5 separate regions of the Homo sapiens genome follow, and all the other regions are linked to region 4. The links are contacts of gene promoters, found by promoter capture Hi-C in human tissues and cell types (Jung and others, 2019). All regions are on one chromosome and are shown on one strand. The core of a region is centred on a gene start or on the middle of the fragment in contact, and the rest is flanking DNA. Distances in the headings are between cores, read along the strand shown. Region 1 overlaps C1orf159 (chromosome 1 open reading frame 159). Region 2 overlaps GNB1 (G protein subunit beta 1). Region 3 holds the start of LOC124903819 (a long non-coding RNA gene). Region 4 holds the start of ATAD3A (ATPase family AAA domain containing 3A). Region 5 has its middle 12 kb from the start of CALML6.

The links. The method cuts DNA at HindIII sites, captures the fragments that hold promoters and counts their contacts. A contact is called where the count stands out against the background at its distance.
Region 1: a contact is called between a fragment that was not itself captured here and the fragment with the promoter of ATAD3A in region 4, in 2 of the 25 tissues and cell types used here (aorta and dorsolateral prefrontal cortex).
Region 2: a contact is called between a fragment that was not itself captured here and the fragment with the promoter of ATAD3A in region 4, in 5 of the 25 tissues and cell types used here (aorta, dorsolateral prefrontal cortex, lymphoblastoid cells and 2 more).
Region 3: a contact is called between a fragment that was not itself captured here and the fragment with the promoter of ATAD3A in region 4, in 1 of the 25 tissues and cell types used here (lymphoblastoid cells).
Region 5: a fragment that was not itself captured here is called in contact with the fragment with the promoter of ATAD3A in region 4 in 1 of the 25 tissues and cell types used here (spleen).

Annotation. Positions count from the first base shown.
Region 1 is chr1:1,108,521-1,111,287 of GRCh38, reverse strand. All of the region lies in intron 1 of C1orf159 (chromosome 1 open reading frame 159), which reads left to right. Among named protein-coding and RNA genes, the nearest start is that of C1orf159, 6.2 kb to the left of the region's middle. The HindIII fragment of the contact is 6,974 bases long and covers 1-2,767 here.
Region 2 is chr1:1,884,285-1,886,984 of GRCh38, reverse strand. The region is part of intron 1 of GNB1 (G protein subunit beta 1); the gene reads left to right. Among named protein-coding and RNA genes, the nearest start is that of GNB1, 5.5 kb to the left of the region's middle. The HindIII fragment of the contact is 4,669 bases long and covers 1-2,700 here.
Region 3 is chr1:1,128,196-1,131,078 of GRCh38, reverse strand. LOC124903819 (a long non-coding RNA gene) reads left to right here and starts at 2,095. Exons shown (of 2, transcript XR_007065349.1): 1 at 2,095-2,588. It overlaps LOC124903820 (a long non-coding RNA gene), which reads right to left and starts at 2,395. Exons shown (of 3, transcript XR_007065351.1): 1 at 2,321-2,395. The HindIII fragment of the contact is 3,193 bases long and covers 1-2,883 here.
Region 4 is chr1:1,510,603-1,513,425 of GRCh38, reverse strand. ATAD3A (ATPase family AAA domain containing 3A) reads right to left here and starts at 1,264. Exons shown (of 16, transcript NM_001170535.3): 1 at 953-1,264. The coding sequence starts at 1,157. RefSeq lists silencers at 1,147-1,306, 1,757-1,956 and an enhancer at 1,457-1,516. The HindIII fragment of the contact is 15,639 bases long and covers 1-2,823 here.
Region 5 is chr1:1,902,351-1,905,050 of GRCh38, reverse strand. No RefSeq gene overlaps it. Among named protein-coding and RNA genes, the nearest start is that of CALML6, 12 kb to the left of the region's middle. The HindIII fragment of the contact is 7,236 bases long and covers 1-2,700 here.

The DNA.
Region 1 (2,767 bases), core at 254-2,753, 400 kb after region 4:
CCAAAATGATGGGATTGCAGGCCTGAGCCTCCACACCTGCCCTGAAACCAGTTCTTCTAAGGGAAAATAAGAGTGGTCAAAGAGTGTATAGCACAATTTAAATTCTCACTAAATTTTTCATTGCCTTGTAGAAATTTTCATCCCATTATTTAGCTTTTTGGCTCCAATGAGATTTTCAAAATAGAAAATGCATGTGTTTAGTTACTAAGGCATAATTTACATGCAGTGAAACACACAGAGCTTGTGTCCAGTTCAATTGTTTTGACAAAGGATTCACCAGACTCCTGTCGTGATGTAGAATCTGCCTGTGATCCATGGAGATTGCCTCGCAGGCTGCTCCAGCGCCCGCCTGCCGCGCCAGACAGGAGCGCTGCTGTGATTTTACCGACACTCTGAGTGTTAGGAGTCACACGTGCGGGCGGTTTTGCGTCTGCCACGGCTCACGCAGAGAACTGTTGTTGAGCTTCCTCTGAGGTGCTGCACAAGGAGTGGGTGTGGGATGCGCTGTTGCGTGCTCGTCGTCTCTGAGGGCGCCCGGGTGGGTTTCCGCTGTCTGAAGAGTTGGGCCTATTTTTGTGCACGTGTTTGGCGGGCGTGTGTTGTTTCTCTTGGGAACGTGCCCGGGGGGAAGGCTGCATCCCAGGTGTGGAAGTCCCAGCGGTTCTGTGTGTCCCCACAGCCGAGAGGCTGAGTGCCGTTTGGTCGTGGAGGCTTTAGTTTGCATTTCCCTGACGCTCACCCGTGTTGAGCACTGTCCACTCATCTGTTGCCATTCGCACACGTTTTCTGAGTGTCCGAGGATGTCTTTTGCCCATTTTTTTGATGACCAGATTGTGAAAGTCCTTTATATATTCCATATTCAGGGCTTTTGTCTGGTACGTGTACTGTGACTATCTCCCATTCTTTGATTTGCCTATTAATTTTATTACTGATGTTGTAAACTAAGAATAAAATCCTAAGTCCCCCGCCGACTGAACGAGCTCCCTCTTGGTCAAGGGGACCCCAGAGAAACCTTAAAAATTGAGTTTCCGGCCATAAAAGGATGGGAGGTTGGACACACCTGGTTATACTGCCACCCTTTTTCAGTTTAGACACAACTGACCAACATTAGTGTTAAAGTGGAGATCACGAGACTGACAGACTCTGCGGCAATAAGACGCCGAGTTATAATCAGGACCTAAGGCCGTGCCAGGCCGGGGTTAAGTCACACACCCTTACAGTTAAAGAATAAGGCTTGGGTTTTCTTTTCCTCTAGCAGTTAAGCAGGCACTGGCCTGAGACAAGCGGTATGGAAACAGTGATGGCTCGCTGCCAGGCACTAACTGACCCCCCATTTCACGGCCATAACTACAGCGTCACTTTCCATAACTTCCTCCTGATAAGACACCACTGGCCACGGACTGGTTCTGCTGGTCTATGGAGGATGTGACTGGAGTGACTCCCGGGCCGCGCCTCACCTTTGGCCATATAGGGCCTAATTGTCTTACATGTAAATGTGAAATCTCACCTCTCAGTGAACATGGGTCCTGCGTTACATGCATGTTTATCTAGTACACATGCATTAAGACAGGAGAGAGGAGCGCTTGAGCCCAGGAGTTCAAGACCAGCCTGCGAAACACAGCAAGACACCCTTTTTACCAAAAAATAAAAATAAAATTAGCCAGATATGGTGGCAGGCATGTAGTCCTAGCTACTTGGGAGGCTGAGGCGGGAGAGTTGCTTGAGCCCAGGAGTTCAAGATGGCGGTGAGCTATGATTGCACCACTGCACTCCAGCCTGGGCAACAGAGCAAACCCATCTCTAAAAGAAAGAAAGAAATTTTAAAAAGGAGGAAAGGAAAGAAAGGAGAAAAGAGGAAAGGAAAAAGGAAAGGAAACTGTTCCCATTAAACACTAACTCCCCATTCCTCCCTGCCCCCCAGCCCCTGGCAACCACCGTTGTCTTTTCTGTCTCTATGAATTCGACAACCCTGGGAACCTCATGAGTAGAATCATACAGTATTTGTCCTGTTGTGATGAGCTGCTTTCACTTAGCATAGTGTTTTCAAGGTTCATTCCTGTTGTAGCATGCGTCCAAAATTTCTTTTCAGGACTGTAGAATATTCCACGGTCTGTATAGACCACCTTTTGTTTATCCATTCATCTGTGGGTGGACACTTGCTCCCACCTTTTGGCTGTGGTGAACAATGCTGCTGCAGACATGGTGGCTGTGGTGAACGGTGCCGAGACATGGTGGCTGTGGTGAACGGTGCTGCCGAGACATGGTGGCTGTGGTGGACGGTGCTGCTGAGACATGGTGGCCGTGGTGGATGGTGCTGAGACATGGTGGCTGTGGTGAACGGTGCTGCCGAGACATGGTGGCTGTGGTGGACGGTGCTGCCGAGACATGGTGGCTGTGGTGGACGGTGCTGCTGAGACATGGTGGCCGTGGTGGATGGTGCCGAGACATGGTGGCTGTGGTGAACAATGCTGCTGCAGACATGGTGGCTGTGGTGAACGGTGCCGAGACATGGTGGCTGTGGTGAACGGTGCTGCCGAGACATGGTGGCTGTGGTGGACGGTGCTGCTGAGACATGGTGGCCGTGGTGGATGGTGCTGAGACATGGTGGCTGTGGTGAACGGTGCTGCCGAGACATGGTGGCTGTGGTGGACGGTGCTGCTGAGACATGGTGGCTGTGGTGAACGGTGCCGAGACATGGTGGCTGTGGTGGACGGTGCCGAGACATGGTGGCTGTGGTGAATGGTGCCGAGACATGGTGGCTGTGGTG
Region 2 (2,700 bases), core at 149-2,648, 370 kb before region 4:
TCCCAGCACTTTGGGAGGCCGAGTCAGGCGGATCATGAGGTCAGGAGATCGAGACCACCCTGGCTAACACGGTGAAACCCCTTCTCTACTAAAATTACTTCTCTACAAAAAATTAGCTGGGCGTGGTGCTGGGCACCTGTAATCCCAGCTACTCAGGAGGCTGAGGCAGGAGAATGGCAGGAACCCGGGAGGGGGAGCTTGCAGTGAGCCAAGATCGGCCACTGCACTCCAGCCTGGGCGACACAGCGAGACTCCGTCTCAAAAAATAAAAATAAAAAAAATTTTAAACTGGTTTACATTCTGATTTCAGGTTTGCATTTGTTAAGAGTGGTTGGAGAGATTATGAAGTAGGCAATTCAGTTAAGTGTTTGGTTTAGGAACACAGAATGAGGAGATAAAATAAATTTAAAATGGAAACTATCAGAAATTTATGAAACTGCAGTGTTCAACATTACTGAAAGAAAAAGCAGGGCCAACGTATATGGGAGTGAGTGTGTATGAAGAGAGAGAAATGCAACATCACATCAGCTGCTCTGGGAGAGGGACAGAGCACCACCTATTTCAAAGCTATGCATTTTGTTCTAGAACTTTGATTGAAGAAATAGAGACAATCTATAGACATTTGAGTTTGCTAGTGGATTAGTGGAATGCTGAAAGCTTTTTTTGTGAGACAGAGTCCCACTCAGCCACCCAGTCTGGAGTGCAGTGGCGCAATCTCGGCTCACTGCAACCACCATCTCACGGGTTCAAGTGATTCTCCAGTCTCAGCCTCCCGAGTAGCTGGGATTACAGGCACCCGCCGTCATGCCCGGATAATTTTTTAAAATTTTATTTTAGTAGAGATGGGGTTTCACCATGTTGGCCAGGCTGGTCTTGAACTCCTGACCTCCGGTGATCTGCCTGTCTGAGCCTCCCAAAGTTCTAGGATTACAGGCGTGAGCCACCGTGCCCTGCCGGAATGCTGAAAGCTTTTTTAAACCTTTTAGCCTCTTGTTCTTGTGTCAGTGCCTACCATTGGGTGCCATGGTAATCAGTGGAAATTACTCCTGGCTTTCAGTGGTAGAAAAGCTTTCTGTTTTATAGAGCAATGTTGCTTGCTTGCTTTTTTTTTTTTTTAAGATTAAGTGGGCCGGGCACGGTGGCTCACGCCTGTAATCCCAGCACTTTGGGAGGCCGACGTGGGCGGATCACGAGGTCAGGAGATTGAGACCATCCTGGCTAACACGGTGAAACCCCATTGCTACTAAAAATACCAAAAAAATTAGCTGGGTGTGGTGGCGGGCGCCTGTAGTCCCAGCTACTTGGGAGGCTGAGGCAGGAGAATGGCGTGAACCCGGGAGGCGGAGCTTGCAGTGAGCCGAGATCGTGCTACTGCACTCCAGCCTGGGTGACTGAGCGAGACTCCGTTTCACAAAAAAAAAAAAAAAAAAAAAGATTAAGTGGAAGTATTTCCTTATTTATGTCTTCTTAAATTAGAATTCTGAGAAAGACCCATTTTTTAAAAGCTTACTGATTTAAAAGACCAGATTAAGATTATCTAAGGTAATTCCTTTTTTCTTTCTTTTTTTTTTGAGATGGAGTTTCCTTCCTGTTGCCCAGGCTGGAGTGCAATGGCGCTGTCCTGGCTCACTGCAACTTCTGCCTCCCGGGTTCAAGTGATTCTCCTGCCTCAGCCTCCCAAGTAGCTGAGATTACAGGTGCCCGCCACCATGCCTGGCTAATTTTTGTAGTTTTAGTAGAGATGGGGTTTCACCATGTTGGCCAGGCTGGTCTCAAACTGCTGACCTCAAGTGATCCGCCCGCCTCCGCCTCCCAAAGTGCTGGGATTACAGGTGTGAGCCACCGTGCCCAGCTTAATTTTTAAGTTTATTCTGTTGAACCTATTTTGCCATAGATAAAATATTTTTATGATTTAATAATTCATTGCTCCAAACTTACTAATGCATTATATCAAGAGAGGACTTTATGTATTAATTCATTCACCTGTTAGAATTGGAATACTGGCCGGGCACGGTGGCTCATGCCTGTAATCCCAGCACTTTGGGAGGCCCAGGCGGGCAGATCACGATGTCAGGAGATCGAGACCAACCTGGCTAACACAGTGAAACCCTGTCTCTGCTAAAAATACAAAAAAATTAGCCGGGCGTGGTGGCAGGCACCTGTAGTCCCAGCTACTTGGGAGGCTGAGGCAGGAGAATGGTGTGAACCCGGGAGGCAGACCTCGCAGTGAGTGGAGATCGCGCCACTGCACTCCAGCCTGGGCGACAGAGCAAGACTCCGTCTCTCAAAAAAAAAAAAAGAATGGGAATACTAAGGGCATCAGTGGAATGTATTCTTGTTTACTGGTGGGTAATCATGTCTCCATGCATGTCTGTGTGCAGTCCTGTAGCACTTAGAAAATATATTCCCTATGTTGATTACAGACACTCAACTTCTGCCGAGTGTTGTAGTTAATAAAGCTTAAAAAATTCTGGGCTGGGTGTGGTGGCTCATGCCTGTAAACCCAACACTTTGGGAGGCCAAGGTGAGCGGATCACCTGAGGTTGGGAGTTCAAGACCAGCCTGACCAACATGGAGAAACCCTGTCTCTACTGAAAATACAAAATTAGCCCAGACGCGGTGGCTCACGCCTGTAATTCCAGCACTTTGGGAGGCCGAGGAGGGTGGATCAGCCTGGCCAACATGGAGAAACCCCATCTC
Region 3 (2,883 bases), core at 160-2,659, 380 kb after region 4:
CAGGAAAAAACCCGCAGAAACAGGTTCCATACCAAGGCCCCGGGGTTGGGATGCCATTGCCGGACCCACAGCAGCCTCGGGAGCCGGGGACCCTGCGGCGAGGTTTTCTCAACTCGCAGGGAAGCGAAGGCCTTGGTGGGGGCCCGCCCTGTGCCCTTCACAGGCAGCTGCAGCTGTGGGCGTGGTGGGGGCCCACCCCCTGCACCTCACGGGGAGCTGCGAGGGGCTTGTTCCACCAAAACACTGAGAAGACAAGAAAGGGGAGGTGTGGGGCCCGGGAAAATCCCACCCAGGGGAGAAGCAATGGGACCTTTGTGACACGGACCACGAAGCCTGCAAGACGCCAGCCCTGCCCCAGGCCCGAGGGAGCCGACCAGCCCCGGGCAGGGCAGGAGGCTCCCGGAGGCCCCTCAGAAATACCTGGCGTGCCGGAATTTAAGTCATGGGGGAGAGTCTGAGGCTGAATTAGTAATGAGTTCAGAGAAAGCTAAGCAAGAAGAAAAGCAAAGGCGATTATTAACTTCAGGGAAACAGCTCAGAGTTCGGGTGAGAACAGGCGGCCACGGTGGACCTGGCACCAAGCTAGTCCCCGGCGCCCAGCAGAGTGACAGCAGAGACCAGGCGCGGCGCGTGACGGCGGGACGAGAGGTGGGAGGGCGGCAAACAGCCCCTTCCACAGGGCAGATTCAGGGCTGACCCTGAAGCTGGAGTGCTGAGAAGCTGCCGTTTGCCAGTGACGTTGGAAGTAAACACAGGAGCCTCCCAGCACACGGAGCTGGTGGCCTCGGCGCGGCCTGAAGATCATATGTGTCCAAGCCTTGCAGAAGTGTTTGACTCTCAAGCAACCTACAGGCATAACTGGTTTTTTTTTTTTTTTTTTTTTTTTTTTTTTGAGACAGAGTCTCACTCTGTTGCCCAGGCTGGAGGGCAATGGTGCCATCTGAGCTCACTGCAACCTCCGCCTTCCAGGTGCAAGCGATTGTCCTGCCTCAGCCTCCAGAGTAGCTGGAATTATAGGTGCCCGCCACCACATCCAGCTAATTTTTTTGTATTTTTAGTAGAGACAGGGTTTCATCATGCTGACCACGCTTGTCTCGAACTCCTGACCTCAAGTGATCCGCCCGCCTTGACCTCCCAAATGCGAACCACTGTGTCCGGCCACAAGCATAACTTTGATAGAAAAGGCAATAACAAATTAAGTTGGTGCGAGCTTTACCCTCTGAGTCCTCGGAATCATTTTTAAAACATAAAGGTTTCCAGAACTCACAGCTGTGAACTTAACTGTTCTCAAGGGGGTATCTTTGATTGATTTTCCTAACTCTTCTACGATAATCGGCCTTTTCCCCTCTTCTGCTTCCTCTCGTTCTGGCAGCCGATGCTCACATCCATAACAGTGTCTGTTTCCCTGGATTTTCCCATCCCAGGGCCACGCAGAGTGCAGCTCCCCTACACGGCCACGGCATTCTGTCCCTCTGTCGCGTGGCCATGCGTGGCTCAGTGCCGTGGGAGCCTCTCCGTGTCTGAGGCCGAGGGCAGGCTGGTGCCCCATTCGCTCTGTGCCTCACAGGCGGCCCTGATGCTCTGTGCTCCAAATCTCTGCAGGACTGGATTTCGGCCGGGACAGAGGAGGCTGTGCCCCCACCCACGTTGTTCCCAATGCCCACGCACCTTGTCAACTGGAATAAATTTGGTTTCCCTGCAAGAGCTCTCTGCCAGGAAATGTAAATCATGGCTTCTCAGTCTCTCTCCCCCTCTGAGGGCCCCCTGGCTGGGTCATTCACAGGCCCCGAGGAACTCTGGGGCCTTCGCAGCCATCTTTTCCTACAGGAACCCCCAGACACCCATAATCATCACGGGGACCCAAGACCCCAGCTTCTCCCGGGGGGCACATGGTCACCCTGTGGCCCCCTCCAGGCATCTCCGCTCAGGCTGTGGGACCCCAGGCCCGGCCCACCTGGCCAGCACAGCCCTGCAGGCCCCAGCTGACCCTCACCACCCCCCAGCCAATAGCAGAAGCCGCCAGCCCTGGGGAAGGCCCTCCGGCTGAATCCCTCCTCTTCTGAGGCCTTGCCCTCCCCGCGGGCTCCGCCTGCCACAACTGTGCCCTGGGCTCACCAGCGGGACCCCCAGGTCCTCCCCAGCACACCATGGAGGCCCCTAAGGGCTGGGCCTTGGCCAGGCGACTGGGGAGGGGCTGGTCCCGGAAGAAAAGCTTTGTGGGGCCGTGGGTGCGGGGGCTTTCGGCTCATCAGAAGCCACCAGCCCTTGAGACAAAACCTCCCAGACGCTGTGGGTCAGACCCACAGAGCCTCAGTCCTACCTGGTCCTGGGAGGGCGGAGGGCGGTGTGGGCCTGGTCCCAGGACGGCGGAGGGCAGTGTGGGCCAGGCGCGGACTCCCCCGGGCGCCCTCATGGTCTTATCTCTGCCCGGCCGGCGGAAGGCGGCGGGAACCTTTGCCTGGTACAACCACTACTGCTCCACAGCCCAGGAATTTGGCATTGAATAATTTTTAACTTCTGCTCTGAGAGAGGAGCTGGCCTTGGATTTAGTGTCCGTGCATGCAGGAATGCCGGGGCTCCATTTTCAAGTAAGTGCCTCGCGGAAAGCCGGCCTCGGAAAAGCAGAGAGAAAAGAGCAAGAAAAGTCAGAGGGGCAGGTCTGGCTGGCATCCAGCGGTGGCCAAGCCCGCAGCCCAGGTCTGACCTCACAGATGGACAGCTCCCCATGTGGGAGAAGCCGCGGGCATCTGGGGGGGGCACCAACTCCCTGGGGTCTAAAGCAGGGTTTGCGCTTCCTGGCAGGGGGGAAAGGCTGCACCTCACACCTCTCTGGGTGCAGAGCGGCTCCGGGACGGCTCCCCTCTCCTGCGCGCCCGCCCCACC
Region 4 (2,823 bases), core at 15-2,514:
GCACTATGGGGAGGCGGCCTGAGGCTGCTCAACCAGGCCTGTACCACTGCAGGGGGCCGCAGGCTGATCACTACGATTCAGCTTCTGGAAGTGGGAGAAGTTTCAATCTCTAAGTGAAGTTAGCGGGTGAAAACCCCCAGGAACTAGGACACAAAGGAACCCTCCAAATAAGCCTGCAGCAAGAAAGTCAGTCACCAACATCCGCTGTCCTCCGAGGTGCCCTGAAGTCCAGCCCTTGATTCCCATCCTAACCTGATGGTTAAAATTACCGAGGAAGGCCATGAGCAGCGGCTCACGCCTGTCATCCCAGCGCTTTGGGAGGCCGAGGTGGGCGAATCACCTGAGGCCAGAATTCAAGACCAGCCTGAACAACATGGTGAGTGCTCACACCCTGAGGGCCTTGGGTCAGGGGTTTACTCAAGCTGAGCAGCACGGCCTGGCCTGTGGCTTCACAGACCTCGCCGTGCAAATGCTAACGTCTTCCAACAAGAAGTGCAAATCTGCTAGTCTCGTTAGAATCAAGTAACTCTCAAATACGCTTCCCTTGTTACGTGGAAACTGCTAGCAACCACCCAACAAACCCATCTACCCATCTGGCCACGCCTTGGCCTGTGCCACGTGGAGGCGGCAAGCGCAGAAGGATCCCGCACGCTCGGCGGTAACTGAAGACCACGGCCAGCCCCAGACCCTGACCCCTGTAACCTATGAGCGCCACCTCCGCACCGCTTTCCGCACCTGACCCGCTCCTGACAGCTGCAGAGGTGCAAACGGGTGACGGAAAGAGTCCGATCCTCCCGGCACGCGACACGGCTCCGGCCGGGGGTGCTCCGGGGGCGCAGTCTCGCCCGGGAAGTGGCTGCCGACAGCGGCGAGGAGCGGCAAGGGCCAGGGCTCCCGCTTCCCCGGCCCGTCCCGCCCGCCCGCCCGCGCCGCCCCGCCCCGCCGCACTCACGCGAGTGCTCCAGCTCGCGCGCCGCCTTGGCGGCGCGCTCCAGGCCGGTGGGGTCGAAGTTGCTCCATTTGTCCTTGGGCGCCGGCCGGTCTCCCAACCCGCGGTCCCCGCCGCCCTCGGCCCCGGGCTGCGCGGGCGGCAAAGGCGGCGGCGGCCCCGCGCCTTCACCCTTGGGGCCCTTGTTAATGCCGAAGAGCCACGACATGCTCGCACCGCCGCCGCCGCTACCGCCGCCGGGACCCCCACCCGAGTCTGACTCGCGCGCGGCTGGGAGCAGCCTCCACGCGCCGCGAGCCGGTGGTCACCGCCACTGCGCAGGCGCCACACACACCCCTTCCTCCCGGCGATAGAAGCGCGTAAGGGACACGCGCGCAGCCCTTGGATTGGCCCCGAGGACAGTGACGCCATAGCGACGGCGCCGCGACTGCCGAACAGGCTTTGGGAGCCAGCGGGGCGGGAGCGGCGAAGCATCTGGCTACGGGAGCCACGCCGGGACAAAATTCCCGAGGGACGTAGGCGAACCCAAGGCAGCGTCAGCCCCGCGCCGCATCCGCGTGGGCTCCGTTGCTAGGGGCTCCGTTGCTAGGGGCTCCGAGGAGTTCCGGCCTTGGCGGCAGCGGGTGGCAAGTTTCCAGGGAGCCCCAAGGTTCTCGATCCGTGCGGCGGGGCGCCCTGCGGTGAGTCCAGGACGCAGAGAAGAGTCTCGCGGGAACCTCACCCGAGGCGGCACCGGCGCCCGGGCAAGCCGAGCCCTTCCGCGATGAGTCGGCGCCCTGGGGTCGCTGCGCCAAGAGCTCAGGAGAGGCGCCTCCCCTCCTCGGTGTCTCCGCAGCCCGCACGGCCCTCCCGCCCAAGACCCCGGGGCGACCCCTTCCCGCGTGGCGGGGCCAGCGAGCTCCTCTTGCGGGGCGTGGACGGGGCCGGGGTGCCCGGGCAGGCGCCGCCCCGGAGCCCACGGTCCACGCGCTCCCAGCGGCCCTGACTTTCTCCTTGATGGAACTGGTTGACTTCACGGAATATATGGAGTGACTTTTCCCACTGGATTGGAAACTGTTTTAAGCCTGAATAATGTTAGATACAATGAGTTCTAAACTTCCCTTCAAAGAATCAGTATATCAGTATGTTCAGTCTTTGTCCTGCATTTTAAAGTCTACCTTCCTCGCAGTTTCAGTAAACAACCTTTTCCACCAGTTCTAGTCAGTAGTTGACATCTGTTGCCCTGGTCACCTGCTCCGTCCTAACTAATCCCGGTCTCCTGCTTTGACCTGAGTCACCTTTAGTTACCTGTCCCATAACCATTTTTCCCGCCAAACCACTCACCCCGCCACTCTGGCCCATACTCCTGCTCCCTTTAAAATAGCCAATGGGCACTAGTTTAGACTGTGCATTCTAACCCTAGCCAATAGGGGAACCACACAGCAGTAGGGGCTACCCGCGTCAGGAATAAGAACCCCTTCCCCTCCCTTGTCCAAGCGCTCGCCATTGCTCCATCTATGAGATGTCCCCTTCTATAGAAGTAAATTATCTAGCTGAGAAAAATTTATATTCGAGTTCTACTTCTTTGGCGGCACAGAAAATTTACATATAACACAGTGAGCTGCCGAGATCTCGTCACTGCACTCCAGTCTGGGCGACTGAGTCAGACTCTGTCAAAAAAAAAAAAAAAAGCCAGAAAATGCCGGCCAGGCGCGGTGGCTCACACCCGTAATCCCAGCACTTTGGGAGGCCGAGGTGGGCAGATCACCTGAAAACAGGAGTTTGAGACCAGCCGGGCCAACATGGTGAAACCCCTGTCAAAAATACAAAAATTAACCTGGGCATGGTGGCGTGCGCCTGTAATCCCAGCTACTCCGGAGGCTTAGGCGGGAAAA
Region 5 (2,700 bases), core at 22-2,521, 390 kb before region 4:
ATGTCCCAAAGAATTTAAAACAGATGTTCAAACAAAAGAATGTGTGTGGCCAAGCACAGTGGCTCACGCCTGCAATCCCAGCATTTTGGGACGCTGAGGGGGGGCAGATCACCTGAGGTCAGGAGTTCAAGACCAGCCTGGCCAACATGGTGAAACCCCATCTCTACTAAAAGTGCAAAAATTAGCCAGGCATGGTGGGCACGCCTGTATTCCCAACTACTCAGGAGGCTGAGGCAGGAGAATCGCTTGAACCCGGAAGGCGGAGGTTGCAGTGAGCCAATATCACACCACTGCACTCCAGCCTGGGCGATGGAGTGAGACTCTGTCTTGGGAAAAAAAGGAATGTGTATAACAGCATTGTTTATAATAGCTAAAGGACCACCCTGGGCAATAGGATGGGACCCCATCTCTACAAAAAAAATTTGTTTTAATTAGCCAGGCATGGTGGCAGGCACCTCTATTCCCAGCTACTTGGGAGGCCAAGGCAGGAGGATCACTTGAGCCAAGGAGGTTGAGGCTGCAGCAAGCCATGATTGCATCACTGCACTCCAACCCCACCACAGAGCGAGACCCTGTCTCTAATTATTTATTTATTTTATATTATTTATTTATTTATTTATTTATTTTGAGACCGGGTTTCATTCTTGTTGCCCAGGCTGGAGTGTAATGGCGCGGTCTCAGCTCACTGCAACTTCTGCCTCCTAGGTTCAAGTGATTCTGTTGTGTCAGCCTCCTAAGTAGCTGGGATTATAGGTGTGTGCCACCATGCGTGGCTAATTTTTTGTGTTTGTAGCTCTGTCGTCAGGCTGCAGTGCAGTGGCGCAGTCTCAGCTCACTGTAACCTCCGCCTCCCAGGTTTGAGTGATTCTCCTGCCTCAGCCTCCCGAGTAGCTGGGATTACAGGCGCGTGCCACCATGCCCGGCTAATATTTGTATTTTCAGTAGAGGCAGGGTTCTGCCATGTTGGCCAGGCTGGTCTTGAATTCCTGACTTCAGGGGATCTGTCCGCCTCGGCCTCCCAAAGTGCTGGGATTACAGGCGTGAGTCACCGCACCTGGCCCCCATTTTTGTATTTTTAGTAGAGGCAGGGTTTCGCCATGTTGGCCAGGCTGGTCTCAAACTCCTGACCTCAGGTGATCCACCCGCCTCGGCCTCCCAAAGTGCTGGGATTACAACTATTGAGCCCCTGTGCTTGGCCTCTGTCTCTATTTAAGAAAAAAAAAAAAAAAAGCCGGTCAGGCACAGTGGCTCACACCTGTAATCCCAGCACTTTGGGAGGCTGAGGCAGGCAGATCACAAGGTCAGGAGATCAAGACCATCCTGGCTAACACGGTGAAACCCTGTCTCTACTAAGAAATACAAAAAAATTAGCCAGGCATGATGGCGGGCGCCTGTAGTCCCAGCTACTCAGGAGGCTGAGGCAGGAGAATGGCGTGAACCCGGGAGGCGAAGCTTGCAGTGAACCAAGATCGCGCCACTGCACTCCAGGCTGGGCGACAGCGCGAGACTCTGGCTCAAAAAAAAAAAAAAAAAAAAAGCCAAAAGGTGGAAACAACCCAAATATCCATTCATGAATGTATGGGTAAAATGTGGTATATCCATAAAGTGGAATATTATTCAGCCGTAAAGAGGAAGGAAGTACGGAGACATGCTGTGATGCAGATGAACCTGGAGACCTATGCTTGGTGGAAGAAGCCAGACATGAAGGGTCACAGGCTGTGTGTTCCACTGGCAGGAGGCATCTACGACAGCCAGATTCACAAAAGAAGGTGGAACCGAGGTTACCAGGACCAGGGGGGTGGAGGAGGGTGGTGTGGCTGTTTAATGGGCATGGGGTTTTCTTGGAGGCAGTGAAGTGTTCTGATGCAGGGGTGCTGACGGCTACGCAGCACTGGGAATGTGCTAAATGCCACACATTGTACACTCGAAAATGGTTACAGCACACCCGGTGCAGTGGCGTGCACCTGTAGTCGGAGCTGCTAGGGAGGCCCAGGAGTTTGAGTCCAGCATGGGCAACGTAGTGAGATCCCCCATACCAAGAAAAGAAAAAAAATAGGCCGAGCATGGTGGCTCACGCCTGTAATCCCAGCACTTTGGGAGGCCAAGGCGGGCGGATCACAAGGTCAAGAGATTGAGACCATCCTGGCCAACATGGTGAAACCCCATCTCTATTAAAAGCATAAAAATTAGCTGGGTATGGTGGCAGGCGCCTGTAGTCCCAGCTACTTGGGAGGCTGAGGCAGAAGAATCGCTTGAACCCGGGAGGCAGAGGTTGCAGTGAGCCGAGATCACGCCATTGCACTCCAGCCTGGGCGACAGAGCAAGACGCCATCTCAAAAAAATAAAAATTTAAAAATAAATAAATAAAAATAAAAAATAGTTAAAATGATAAATTTTATGTGTATTTTATCACTTTTTTTTTTTTTTGAGACAGAGTCTCGCTCTGTCGCCCAAGCTAGAGTGCAGTGGCGTGATCTCAGCTCACTGCAAGCTCCGTCTCCCGGGTTCACGCCATTCTCCTGCCTCAGCCTCCCAAGCAGCTGGGACTACAGGTGCCCGCCACCATGCCCGGCTAATTTTTTTGTATTTTTAGTAGAGACAGGGTTTCACCGTGTTAGGCAGGATGGTCTCGATCTCCTGACCTTGTGATCTGGCCGCCTCGGCCTTCCAAAGTGCTGGGATTACAGGCGTGAGCCACCG